2 separate regions of the Homo sapiens genome follow, and region 1 is linked to region 2. The links are contacts of gene promoters, found by promoter capture Hi-C in blood cells and fetal thymus (Javierre and others, 2016). All regions are on one chromosome and are shown on one strand. Each heading gives the region's core, a stretch centred on a gene start or on the middle of the fragment in contact. The rest is flanking DNA. Distances are from core to core; before and after follow the strand shown. Region 1 holds the start of DND1 (DND microRNA-mediated repression inhibitor 1). Region 2 holds the start of CYSTM1 (cysteine rich transmembrane module containing 1).

Evidence for each region. The method cuts DNA at HindIII sites, captures the fragments that hold promoters and counts their contacts. A CHiCAGO score of 5 or more calls a contact.
Region 1: a fragment that was not itself captured here is called in contact with the fragment with the promoter of CYSTM1 in region 2 in 1 of 17 cell types (neutrophils); the score reaches 5.6 in neutrophils.

The regions. Positions count from the first base shown.
Region 1 is chr5:140,669,721-140,676,503 of GRCh38, reverse strand. It overlaps DND1 (DND microRNA-mediated repression inhibitor 1), which reads left to right and starts at 2,928. Exons shown (of 4, transcript NM_194249.3): 1 at 2,928-2,985; 2 at 3,116-3,233; 3 at 3,598-4,059; 4 at 4,754-5,710. The coding sequence starts at 2,962. The coding sequence ends at 5,211. It overlaps HARS1 (histidyl-tRNA synthetase 1), which reads left to right. Exons shown (of 13, transcript NM_002109.6): 11 at 1,371-1,487; 12 at 1,679-1,825; 13 at 2,176-2,599. The coding sequence ends at 2,247. WDR55 (WD repeat domain 55) reads right to left here. Exons shown (of 7, transcript NM_017706.5): 7 at 4,159-6,783. RefSeq lists enhancers at 2,463-3,258, 3,259-4,054. The HindIII fragment of the contact is 1,446 bases long and covers 1,457-2,902 here.
Region 2 is chr5:140,170,945-140,177,090 of GRCh38, reverse strand. CYSTM1 (cysteine rich transmembrane module containing 1) reads right to left here and starts at 1,903. Exons shown (of 3, transcript NM_032412.4): 1 at 1,806-1,903. RefSeq lists a silencer at 1,516-1,805 and an enhancer at 2,096-2,325. The HindIII fragment of the contact is 7,638 bases long and covers 1-3,973 here.

The DNA of each region.
Region 1 (6,783 bases), core at 930-3,429, 500 kb before region 2:
CCCATTATATGTAAGTTTTATGGATCTTTAATCCATAATCTTTCTGCACTCAATCCTCTGCTCTGGGTCTCTACTTCCTTCAGGGCTGTCACAAACCTGGGCTGGTGTATCCAAGACTTAGATCTTCCTCATGATACGGAATACTTAACATTTTACTGCCTTGTGCCAGGCACTGTGCTTGGTGCTTTTCATGCATTATCAAAATATAATTGTTACTACAGCCCTGTGAGAGTAGCTAATTTTATTAATTGCATTTTCCAGATGAGAACACTGAAGCATTATAGATCAAATAATTTGCTTAAGGCCATGAAACTTGTAAGTGGTAGGGTCAGAATTTGAATCCAGGCAGTCTGACTCCAAAGTCTTGCCACTAACCACACTGCAATACTGTCTCTAAATGGGAAGCATGTGTCTGAGGCCCTGGGATCCCTCAGATGGCTACCGTGACTCTCTAGCACCTAGAGTAACACCAAGGAAGCCTCTTGTAGCCTCAAGCCCTCCTTTGTTGCTGCTGGTCTTAAGTGGCTGGTTGCATTTCATCTTCTGGGAAATGCTCTGGCAACCTCCCCACAGTCCTATGCCTTTTCTCTAGGGTGGAAACCACCCATTTCCCAGTTGAGATCATTTTTCCAGTAGGCATCTTACATTCTAAGAACTATGAAAATAGTTTTCCTGAAAAAGACAAGGGAAGCAGCAGCAGCATTCTCCTTTCCCCACACCCATATACACGCCTGTGCCCTGTAACTGAAGTGTGAGAGGCACAGTGTCATAAATGGGTAGATAGTAAGTGGGGACTAAAACTGTCAAGGGTGATCTAATTGGGGTGGGCTCATAGTAGTACTTCTGTGTGAATGCTTTGGTGGACCCTTAAGGTACTACATGGACCAGCCTGGGCAACATGATGAGACCCTGTCTCTACAGATTAAAAAAAAAAATTTTTTTTTTTTTTTAAATTAGCTGAGTATGGTGGTGTGTGCCTGTAGTCAGGAGGCTGAGGTGGGAGGATCACTTGAGCTTGGGAGGTCGAAGCTGCAGTGATCACACCACGGCACTTCAGCCTGGATGACAGAGACCCTGTCTCAAAAAAAAAAAAAAGGTACTACATGGAGATAAGCTTGAAGTTACTGTAAAAAAGCTACCTTTACTCTTGCCCTAAGTTATTTATTCTGATACGTCCTATGTACAAGTCAGTCAGTTCAGTCCTCATATCTACTAAAAGCTACCTTTATGCCCAAGGTGCTAGATGAGAAGACAGGGCCCCTGCCCTGGTAGAGCTGAGTTGGGCCTGGTCTCAAAATCCCGACTAGAGCCTGCTTTGTTTGCTCCTTGAAGGTGTTAGCCCAGCTCTCTTTTATCTGCCCCTTCCCCAGGCTTTGGAGGAGAAGATACGGACCACGGAGACACAGGTGCTTGTGGCATCTGCACAGAAGAAGCTGCTAGAGGAAAGACTAAAGCTTGTCTCAGAACTGTGGGATGCTGGGATCAAGGTATGGGAGGCAAGCCCCAGGGTGGCAGCAAACTTAGGTGTGCTGGACACAAACTGAATAAAAGCTCACCCATAATGGATCCTGCCATTACTTCTCAAAAGTAGAGCTAAGAACAGGGTGCCAGCTTGGACACCCTCTGTCCCTGAGGACAGCAGAAGCCAGCCTTCATCTTCTGCTCTTGTCCCCTGCAGGCTGAGCTGCTGTACAAGAAGAACCCAAAGCTACTGAACCAGTTACAGTACTGTGAGGAGGCAGGCATCCCACTGGTGGCTATCATCGGCGAGCAGGAACTCAAGGATGGGGTCATCAAGCTCCGTTCAGTGACGAGCAGGGAAGAGGTGAGGGAGGTGGGCAGGAAGGCTAAGGGACAGAGAATGTATGCCATTTTGGCAGGCCCATGCCCATTCAAGACCTGAGAAAAAGCCTGGCATTGATATTAGTACAACTCATAAAAGCCTTGAGGGCTTAACCTGTTACTGTGGTCTTAGTAGGGTGAGATCTCCATCCCTGCATATACCTTATGGTTTGTTGGCTCCCCCAAGAGGCACACTCTAGCCTGAGGTGTTTAATTAGGTTCCTGCTCCCAGCTGAGACAAGCCTGATGCCTAGAGGGCTAGAGGAAACTAGGCACTCGGGGAGCAGTGGAATGGAAGATGCTTATACCACCTTCTTCTCCCATCCTGGCCAGGTGGATGTCCGAAGAGAAGACCTTGTGGAGGAAATCAAAAGGAGAACAGGCCAGCCCCTCTGCATCTGCTGAACTGAACAAACTATCAGAGGAAAGGAAGTGGGACTGGCACTATTTGAGGTTAAGACAAACTGCATATGTACTTCAATTGCTTTGCACTTTTCCGTTTCAGCGGAAGACCTGAAGAGTGGTCAGAACAGAGCCTTTGATTTTTATTATGGTTATTTTATTGATTATTACTGGCAAAAACGGCCAGGTACAACACCTTTTTCATACAAGGCCCAGGAGGCTTAGTCCAGTCTGTGCTCCTGGGCTACAAGGACCCAGCCTGAGATGGTCCCATCTGCAGGGCCCCGCACCAGTTGGAGCAGATGCCTCCCCACCACCAATTGCCAAAGGTCCAATAAAATGCCTCAACCACGGAGTCTGCGTGTGTCAGTGATGCCTAGCCCCGCCTTCCCCAGCAGACCAATGTAGGGATGGAAAAGGGAGAAAAACAGTAAACTTGTGACCCTGAGGTTCTTGTCTCCAGCGTCCACCCTGCGGCTTGGGAGCTCCTCCTCGGGAGGCAGCCCCCGTACATACGCACCCGCGACTTTGCAGCTTTCACCTGAAGGTCTGAGCGAAGCCCGGGCGGCGCACGTGCAGTGGATACCTCCACCCCCCTGGGAGGCGGGGTCGCGCTCAGAGCCAATGAGAGCTTGCGGGGTGGAGGGGTAGGGAAGCTTCCAGAGGCCGGTGGGGAGGAAGTTATAAAGAGGGTACGAGGGGGCCAGCTGGAGAGCCATGCAGTCCAAGCGGGATTGTGAGGTAAGCGGCTGGCGACTTGGGGGCCGGCGAGCCCCGCCGGAGCGGGGGTCGGCTTTAGGGACCCCAGTACCACAGGAGAGGTGGGGGCGCGCTTGGCGATCCGCCATTCCAACCTTCCTTTCCCTCTCAGCTGTGGTGTGAGAGGGTGAATCCAGAGAACAAGGCGGCGCTGGAGGCGTGGGTCAGGGAGACAGGCATCCGCCTGGTGCAGGTGAACGGGCAGAGGAAGTATGGCGGGCCACCCCCAGGTACGGTAGTCCCAGCCCCTCCGCCTGTCCGGCTACACCAGCCCCCTTTGGGGGAGGGGCTGCTCCGAGCCTTCACTGTCAGAAACTGCGAACTACCCGGATTTATACCCCCCAGCAAAGGAGGAACTGTGGCTCCACGTCCACCCGCCCCGTCGAGGGAGGGGGCCAATCTCAAGGTGTACCTACTCTGTGCCAGCCCCCTTGTTAGCGCAGTCACCTAATTATGCCAACCACCCAGGGTACGGGTGTAAACCCATTTCACAGACCTTTGTTCACATCGCCTCCCACCCCCGCGCGCTGGGTCCGTGGGCTCAGAATTCGAAAGCGTCGCCTGACGGTGGCCTTGCATACCCTCTTCCCACAGGCTGGGTGGGCAGCCCGCCGCCAGCTGGGTCAGAGGTGTTCATCGGGCGGCTGCCTCAGGACGTGTACGAGCACCAGCTTATCCCGCTGTTCCAGCGCGTGGGCCGCCTCTACGAGTTCCGCCTGATGATGACCTTCAGCGGCCTGAACCGCGGCTTCGCCTATGCCCGCTACAGCTCGAGGCGCGGCGCGCAGGCCGCCATCGCCACGCTGCACAACCATCCGCTGCGGCCGTCCTGCCCGCTGCTCGTGTGCCGCAGCACCGAGAAGTGTGAGCTGAGCGTTGACGGCCTGCCGCCGAATCTGACCCGCAGCGCGCTGCTGCTCGCGCTGCAGCCGCTGGGTCCCGGCTTGCAGGAGGCGCGGCTGCTGCCCAGCCCCGGACCGGCGCCCGGGCAGATCGCTCTGCTCAAATTCAGCTCGCACCGGGCCGCTGCCATGGCCAAAAAGGCCCTGGTGGAAGGTAGGCTGGGGCGGGGGTGCTGGTTGGGGCCAAACGCGTTCTGCCCGGCACTTTATACTGAGCATAGCTGTTAAAGTTACAAGATCTTAGAGTCAAACATGCCAGAATTTGCAACCTTTTACTATTTGATCTCAGATTTTTAAAACTTCCAATGGTGCTACCACCACCGCTTACCTAAATTTGTGACACTTCCCGAGCATTACCTCCTGACTTAATTCTCAACCTTCCCCCACCCCCACACCGCAAAATAGGCACAGGACCCTCAAGCTATGAGGAAACTGTTAGAGAAATTGATTTGCTCAAGGGAATCCAACTGAGCTTTTTACTACTATAGAATCTGTTTCCTCAGACTGTTATGAGAATTAAGTAACATAATGGGTGTACGGTACTTAGCACACTGACTGACTTACAGCAAGTTTTCCCAGTAAAGATTAGCCATTATGATGGTTATGAGGCAGACAAAGCCTGCAATTAACCAGTACTTCTCCAAGGAAACTTGTAAGGTAGCAGTGTGTTATACTCCCTTTGCAAATAATGGAGGCTGAAGGCTTCATTGTCTTTTCTTACCCATGGTCACACTACCAGGAAATGGGAAGGCTACAAATAACAGGACTGTGTAGCTCCAAAGGGCTCACCACCTGGAGGCTTGGGCCCAGGGTTTAGACCTGCCCTTGTCTTTGCATTTTTCCTACAGGGCAGTCACACCTCTGTGGAGAGCAGGTGGCTGTGGAGTGGCTCAAGCCAGACCTGAAGCAGCGACTTCGCCAGCAGCTTGTGGGTCCCTTCTTGCGGTCCCCACAGCCAGAGGGCAGCCAGTTGGCTTTGGCAAGGGACAAGTTAGGGTTCCAAGGGGCTCGGGCTACCCTGCAGTTGCTGTGCCAACGAATGAAGCTGGGCAGCCCTGTGTTCCTCACCAAGTGTTTGGGCATAGGACCTGCTGGCTGGCACCGCTTCTGGTACCAGGTGGTGATTCCTGGGCATCCGGTGCCCTTCAGCGGCCTCATCTGGGTTGTGCTGACCCTAGATGGCCGGGATGGGCATGAGGTGGCCAAGGATGCTGTGTCTGTACGGCTGCTGCAGGCACTCAGTGAGTCTGGGGCCAACCTCCTGTGGTCTGCTGGGGCTGAGGCAGGTACCATGGTTAAACAGTGACTCCATTCTTTCTCCACAGGCACCCTGAATGGGCATGCAGAGCCTGTGTCAGGCCCCATCCCAGCAGGCCTGGGTGGCCACTTTCTGACCCCCAAAGGTGGGGAGGGGCATGGGCCCAGGCCCATCAGCCTCCCTGCTGGGACAGGGACCTATGGCACCTGGGGGCAGCTTAGGTTTGGGTTAAGTTGTGGTGAGGGGCCTTGCCCTCCCGCTCCCAGCCCAGGGTCCAACCTGACCCAGTGATCTTCCATGGCCGTTCCTTGTCCCACCCCCACCCGATCATACCTTCCCCCCTCTGCCACAGCTTAGCATGAATCTTCTTTATTGTCCTGATTTGTCCTCTTTGTTGGTTTTTATTTGTGGGGAAGGGCAGCTGAGCCAAAGGGGTCAGAAATTCTGCCCTTTGCCTCCACCACATGGCATTCTGGTTTTGGTTTCTGTATAGTTTTGGGTCTTTCTATGCTGGTTGTATTTATATTAAACCCCTGGTTAGTATATACTTGTGTCTGTGCTGTCTTGCCCTAGCTTAGAGTTTGTTTACACTGGTAGAGTGAATAGCTGCTACGGGGCAAGTACTTCCTCACATCAGTGCTTTGAGTGCATCTTCTTGTGTTGCACTGTAGGGTATTATAAATTCATATCCAGGCCGGGTGTGTTGGCTTTTGCCTGTAATCCCAGCACTTTGGGAGGCTGAGGCGGGTGGATCACCTGAGGTCAGGAGTTCGAGACCAGCCTGGCCAGCATGGAGAAACCCCGTCTCTACTGAAAATACAAAAATTAGCCTGGCATGGTGGCAGACACCTGTAATCCCAGCTACTTGGGAGGCTGAGGCAGGAGAATTGCTTGAACCCGGGAGGCGGAGGTTGCAGTGAGCCAAGATCACGCCATTGCACTCCAGCCCTGGCAACAAGAGCGAAACCCTGTCTCAAAAAAAAAAAAAAAAAAAATTTCATATCCAGCCAGGCACAGTGGCTCATGCCTGTAATCCCAGCATTTTGGGAGGCCAAGGCAGGAGGATCACTTGAGCCCAGGAGTTCCAAGACCAGCTTGGTCAACATAGTGAAACCCCTGGTCTCTACCAAAAAAAAATCACAAAAATTAGTCAAGCATGGTGGCAGATGCCTGTTAAGTCTCAGCTACCAGGCAGGCTGAGGTGGATCACTTGAGCCCAGGAAGTCAAGGATGCAGTGAGCCATGATCAACCCACTGTACTCCAGCCTGGGTGACAGAGTGAGACCTTGTCTCAAAAAATATAAATTTTTTTGGCCAGGTGTGGTGGCTCGTGCCTGTAATCCCAGCACTTTGGGAAGCAGAGGCAGGTGGATCATTTGAGTCCAGGAGTTGAAGACCAGCCTGGGCAAAACAGACCCGTTTCTACCAAAAAAAAAAAACAAAAATTGGCCTGGTGTGGTAGTGCACACCTGTAGTCCCAGCTGCTCCAGAGGCTAAGGTGGAAGGACAATCTGAGCCTGGGGACATTGAGGCTGCAGTGAGCCAAGATCAAGCCAGCGCACTCCAGCCTGGACGATGGCAAAACCCTGTCTTTTCAAAAAATAATTCATATCCTCTCTG
Region 2 (6,146 bases), core at 654-3,153:
AGATTTTTTTTTTTTTTTTTTTGAGACAGAGTCTCGCTCTGTCGCCCAGGCTGGAGTGCAGTGGCGCAGCCTCGGCTCACTGCAAGCTCCACCTCCCGGGTTCACGCCATTCTCCTGCCTCAGCCTCCCGTGTAGCTGGGATTACAGGCGCCCGCCACCACGCCCGGCTTATTTTTTATATTTTTAGTAGAGACGGGGTTTCACCGTGTTAGTCAGGATGGTCTCGATCTCCTGACCTCGTGATCCGTCCGCCTCGGCCTCCCAAAGTGCTGGGATTACAGGTGTGAGCCACCGCACCAGGCCAGGTCTAGAGATCTTTGATCTACAATCAACAAATAGTATGGGACTCCTTTCAGCGAATCCAATGCCCCACATGAATGTTTGGATGCTGGTTCTCCTTTAATAACTTCCCCCTATTAAATCTCTTACCAGTCATTTGGGGTTTGGGTTTCACCCTAGGGATACAAGGTGTTTGTAAGTCACTCTGAAACCTCTGAAGGGCAAAGTGTTGTGGACGCTATAATCTCCCTGCATACTGAGGGGGGCATAGCTCCCAACCAGTCATTAAATCCCGTCAAATGAGATACTCGAAAATGAGCTGCCCTTGGGTGGGTCCTTTCATAAAAAGGAATTTTTAAAAATCTGCTAACATGGTTACTCCACAAAGTTTACATGTATCATATTGTATAAATCTATAAATATGTACAATTATTTTTTGTTTAATTTCTAAAAATTTGCCAACAATGGCTGAAAAAGGCACCTGGCTGCCTGAGCCCCTACCCTTGTCGGTTACAAGTATTTCATAAGCAGGGTTTGAGGAATCCCATCAGAGAAGAGTGTTGTCACCTTTTTGCCGGAATGTCACACCAACTTCCTCAGTGTTCCCCTCACACCAACTTCCTCAGTGTTCCCCCTACCCCAATCTAGCCAACGTTTCAATGGCTCCCCACAGCACACAGTGCCTCTCAGGTGGGCACTCAAGGGTCCTTTCCTAATCCTCCCTAACCTAATTCTCCAAACTTTTTTTCCCCCAAAACAGCCCAGCAGACGGTCCAGTCAGTCCCCAAATCGTTTTTCCTCATGGTCTCCTTCCCCAGGGGTCCTCCCCTCCTTCTCTCCCCCCTGCAACCTCCACTGCTACCGGGAGATTAGTTCCCACCCGTCAGGACCCCGCTCAGATTTCACTTCCTCCAACAGGTCCGCTCAGATCCCAATCCACGGCTCTCAACAGCAGCCGGGATTCCTTTCCCCCGCAACGCCTTCTCTGAACACCCCGGCCTCCGAGCGCCGGCTTTGCGTTCCCTAGTTACTTCCAGTCACTAGTTACTTCCGCTCCGCTCCCACCCGCGGGACTCGCGACCTGCCCCCTGCCCCCGGCTGGCCCAGCTCGGAATAGGCAGAGCAGCGCCTCAGAAATCGCAGCCCAAGGCGAAGAAATCCAGAAGCCTCCCGCGGACGTCCCCCGGGACGGGGTGTGGCGAGCCCCGCTCCGAGCCCGCCGACTCCTCGTGAGACGAGAACCGCAGCGACGCGGAGACCCTGTGAGTCCACCGCCGAGACGCGCGGCGCGGCGACCAGGAGCCCCAGAGTAGCCGCGGGGCGCCGGGAGGGATCCAGCTGGCGGCAGCAGCTTCCCTGCCTCCCTGCCCCTCCCCAGGGGCTGCGCGAACCCCTGCCTGAGCCAGGCCAGCCCGGGTGCCCCCCAGTTCTCAGGGCGCTCCCCAGGGAGCCCGGGGACGCGCCCTGTCCGTGCCTGATCCCCGCCCTGGTCCCAGCTGGGTCGGGCCAGGTCCGCTGCACCTCACCTCTCCTCTCCACGAACCGACTGGATAACGGTCGGGTCTGAACCTGAGGAGCCCGGACCAGCCCGCAGTAGACTTGCCGCACCTGTCTCAGAGCAAGTGAGGAGCAGCCGGGCGCCTGACGTCACGGCCGCTCCCAGCGCCGCGAACCGGGAGTCACCTGATCACCCTGGCAACGCGCGCGGCGCGGGGCGAGGCGAGGCTTGCGTCACAGCACGAGCCCCGCCCCCAACTGCTCGGCCTCCAAGCGCCGCCGGAAGCGCTCTCTTGCAGTCGGCGCAGTCGGGAGGCGGGGTCGGTCTCCGACTTCCCAACGTGGGCCTCCCAGCTGCGCTGGATACTTAGGACTCCCACAGGCGTCCCCCTCAGATTGGATTGGTTCTCCGAGACTCCACCCGATACCCCAACTCCGCTAGTTCAGGCGCCTGGGAGGCAAGACCAGCGTCCATGCGGAACCCTGCTCAGTGCGTGGCATGAGGGGTCGGCTGTGGGCTGCTGCCTCCTCGTGTCTTGTTGGTCCAGACCCAACTAGGGTTGGGGGCTTACTTCCCGAGCTGTACCTGAGCGGAATGGGGCTGAGGCTGATAACTGGATTGCTCTCTGGCTACTTTTCCCCATAAACCTTGCAACAAGTAGTCCCGCCAGTACTTTAGAGTGTAATGAGACTTCATTCACATCAGGAGGGGGAAGGGGGACAGAATCTTCTGTCCTGAAGGTTTCCTTCTTCTGTTCCAACAGGAAGAGAAGTTACCGAAAAGCTCCCAGAGCAAGGCCTAGAATGAGCTTGCAAGTCCTACTTGCAAAAAATTTTTTATTTTTCATTTTAGAAATTGATTTTCTCTCCATATTCCTCCCCTTGCTTGCTATTAGGTTGGTGCAAAAGTAATTGTGGTTTTTGCATTTTTTTTTTAAATGGCAAAAACAGCAATTACTTTTGCACCACTCTAATATAAGTATATGCCTACAACTTTTGTTACTCTCTAGGCTTCCCAGATAAGACTATCAGCTTCGAAATGAAAATTTAACATCCCCTGGAGGTCTCAGTGTGAGAGTCACTGCCTATTTCACACCTTCACTATTTGCTGACTTTCATTTCAGTTTTACTCTCCTCATCCCTGCACTGCCAAGAAGGTTTCATATGTATTGAAACCTTCCCTCTCAAGAGTTTAGGATCTTAGACCAAGAAGTTAGTTTATAGTCAACTTCTTGTGAGCATCTTTTAGTGTCAGGCAATGGGCCATGGGCAGATTGAGATGTGGTTCTCGAAGATCAAACGTGTATGGGTGGTATGTCTCACATAAGTACAACTTGTACTGTTTATTATGACTTAATCATTGTATTTAAGTGGCACTTTTTAATTTTCACACTTAAAGAAACTCATATAAGTGGGAAAGAAGACAGCTGTGAAAGGTAGAGAAGAACCATGGCTCTAGACAGAGCTGTACTAATAGGAGAGAAGAGATTGAAAATGTGAGCCCAGGTCCCAAGGAGCACAGAGGCATGGTCAGAAGGTTGGTAGGAACAGGACAGAGGCAGCCAGGCCTGAGGTGTTTGGCAGATCTGAGGAGGGCAGGGATAGAGGGTGAGGGGAGGAGTGGGGCCAGAATGAGGCTTGAGGGATTCAATGGAGGGCGAAAGTGCTGGGAAGGGAGGAGGGATTGGAAAGAAAGGAGAAGTATGCAGTGGTTTGGGAAGGAGTTGCTGAAAGGGAGGGCAGGGTAAATAGAGACCCAGGAAAGGGTGCTAAGAGCATTAAGAGAAGGGAGGCTGAGAGGCTACAAAAAAGGACTGAGGGGGAGGAAGAAGCAGGTGGGAGACTCTGGGGCAGCAAACATCTCAGAACCAGTCAGTAGGTGGTGTCCTTCAGAGGCTGTTGGAGAAGAGCAGCATTGTCTGTTTGCCTCTGAAGAGTGAAGGTGATCCATGCACACCCCAAACTACCTCTGGACCATCTGAGGGTAAGAGCCACCCTTTGCAGAGCACTAATGCAGAGGGAAGAGCAGAAACAGGCACGTCCATAACTACACCCTGATAGTACTCAAGGCAGTCAGGCTTTTTGGCTGGACAGTTTTTCAGGCCTGTGGTACATGCCTCCGTGCCTCTAATCTGGGCAGGGCAAGGTGAGGATGGAGTGGAAGGCAGGGGTAATTCCCTTAGAAGGGAGGCAAGCTTCTCATGGCAGCTGGGTCATATGAAGGCTGTGCTAGGGAAGAAAAGATGCTAGGACACATTCTCAGTACGCTCCCTGACCACTCCCCTTTTACTGAGTTGGTAGGGTGAGGGCGTAACCATCGAAGGAAAAATAGAACATTCCTCACCCCCACCTCCACATCCATGCTGAGGAAAGTGTTATTATGTGGGTAAAAACTCAAGGAGTGTTGCTGACAGCATCCAAGAACAGAGATGAGGCCAGGGAATGCATCTCACATGGCTCTTTTCTAAGATTTTGACCTCAGGTCCCAGGACTAAGCAGCAGGCCAGATGTAGAAGTTGCTGGAGTTTCATCAGGTGTCTTCACAACAGCAGTGTGGGTTTCCATTCCTGGAAATAAAAGAAAAATGTCAGGGTACAAGGTCCTGGCCAAGCATATTTGCTGTGAAAGTCCATTAGTCACAGAAGTAACAATGAATTTTCAATATTTGTTCATTCGGGAGAACTGTCCAAGGACTGTGGAGGCAACATGGTGCAGTCGTTGGGAGCCTGTGTTCTGAGATTTATCCATTTTGTGAACTTGGCCAAGTTACTCACCTTCTTTGAGTCTCTGCCTTATCTGTAAAATAGAGATAATAATACCTACCTCACAAGACTATCATAAACTTTAGGTGAATTCCAGGGCAAAGAAAGAGAACCCAGATTCGTAATATTTTTTAAAGGGCCATTTTTTAAACCATTGTATTTTTATTGGACCACATTTGTTCTCTGAACAACTGGATGAAAGAATGTTTCTTGGATGCCTAATGTACACTCAAGACTGATGGATACAGAAGGAGCATGTGCCCTGGCTTGGTCAGGCATCCAATTTCTGATGGGAAGATAAGACAGTGTGAGACCTTGCCAGGCTGCTGTGAAATTGAATGCTAAACTATGTCATGTCCTTCCATGCCCGCAGCGTTCATGGAAAGAGGGGCCATGCCAGCTGCATTGGCTAAGGTGGGATACATGAAAGGAAGGGTCTGTAGCAGAGCCTTGAAAGATAGGATTGGCCAGGCACAGTGGCTCACGCCTGTAATCCCAGCACTTTGGGAGGCCAAGGTGGGTGGATCACTTGAGGTCAGGAGTTCAAGACCAGCCTAGCCAACATGGTGAAACCCCATCTCTATTAAAAGTACAAAAAGTAGCCAGGCGTCATGGCGCATGCCTGTAATCCCAGCTGCTCAGGAGGCTGAGGCAGAAGAATCGCCTGAACCTAGGAGGTGGAGGTTGCCATGAGCCAAGATTGTGCCACTGCGCTCCAGCCTGGGCAACAGAGCGAGACTCCATCACAGAGAAACAAAACAAAACAAAAAACAAAGACAAAAACAAAAAAAAGATAGGATTTGGAGAGGTGGTAGGTGAGGAGAACATTCTGGGTCAGGGCGGTGATCTGAGCAGCCGGGGCAGGGGCTCAGTAAATATTCACTGGCTAGATGAATGAATGAATGAGCAAAGATAATAATGAAATTATCAGCATAGTGTAAGATCAGCCACGCTTTGTTGAATGAATGGATGCATGATTAAACAAAAAAAGCAAAGACAATGAAATTAGGTAATGGTGGGCATAGCTGTAAGACCAGCCTAACTGAACCGTGGAAACTGGGGAGTTGTGGGAAATAAGATAGAGATGGAGCAGACTGTGGGAGAGCTTTTGAGACAGTAGAATCTTCTGGGAGGAGCATGGAGTCTGGATCCAGAGGGACAGGATTGCATTTGGACTCCATCACCACATATTGACCATGTGACTTTGAGTGAGTTACTTAATCTTTCTGTGCATTGGTTTCCTCGTCCAAAAAATATAGGAATAAGATTGATATCTGCTTTATAGTGTCACTTTGAAGATGAACTGAGCAACCTATGAAATGTAAGCATGATGCCTGGCCCATTGTAAGTGCCTTAAACTTAGTTTTTATTATTAGTTTTATTAAGGACTGAGCAGATGAGAATAGATTCAATATGAAAACTTAGGGAACCACTGAAGTTCCTTGAAGTGGGAAATGAGAATGGAATGCAGTGTTTGGGAAGAATCACTTGGCAGAAGTATTCAGGCTGGGTCAGAAGGCAATGGTGTAGCCCCAAAGGGTGAAGAAGGGCTGACCAGGGACTAGAAGCAACCCCTCCTGAAAATGAGAAAGCCTGTCCACTTGCTGG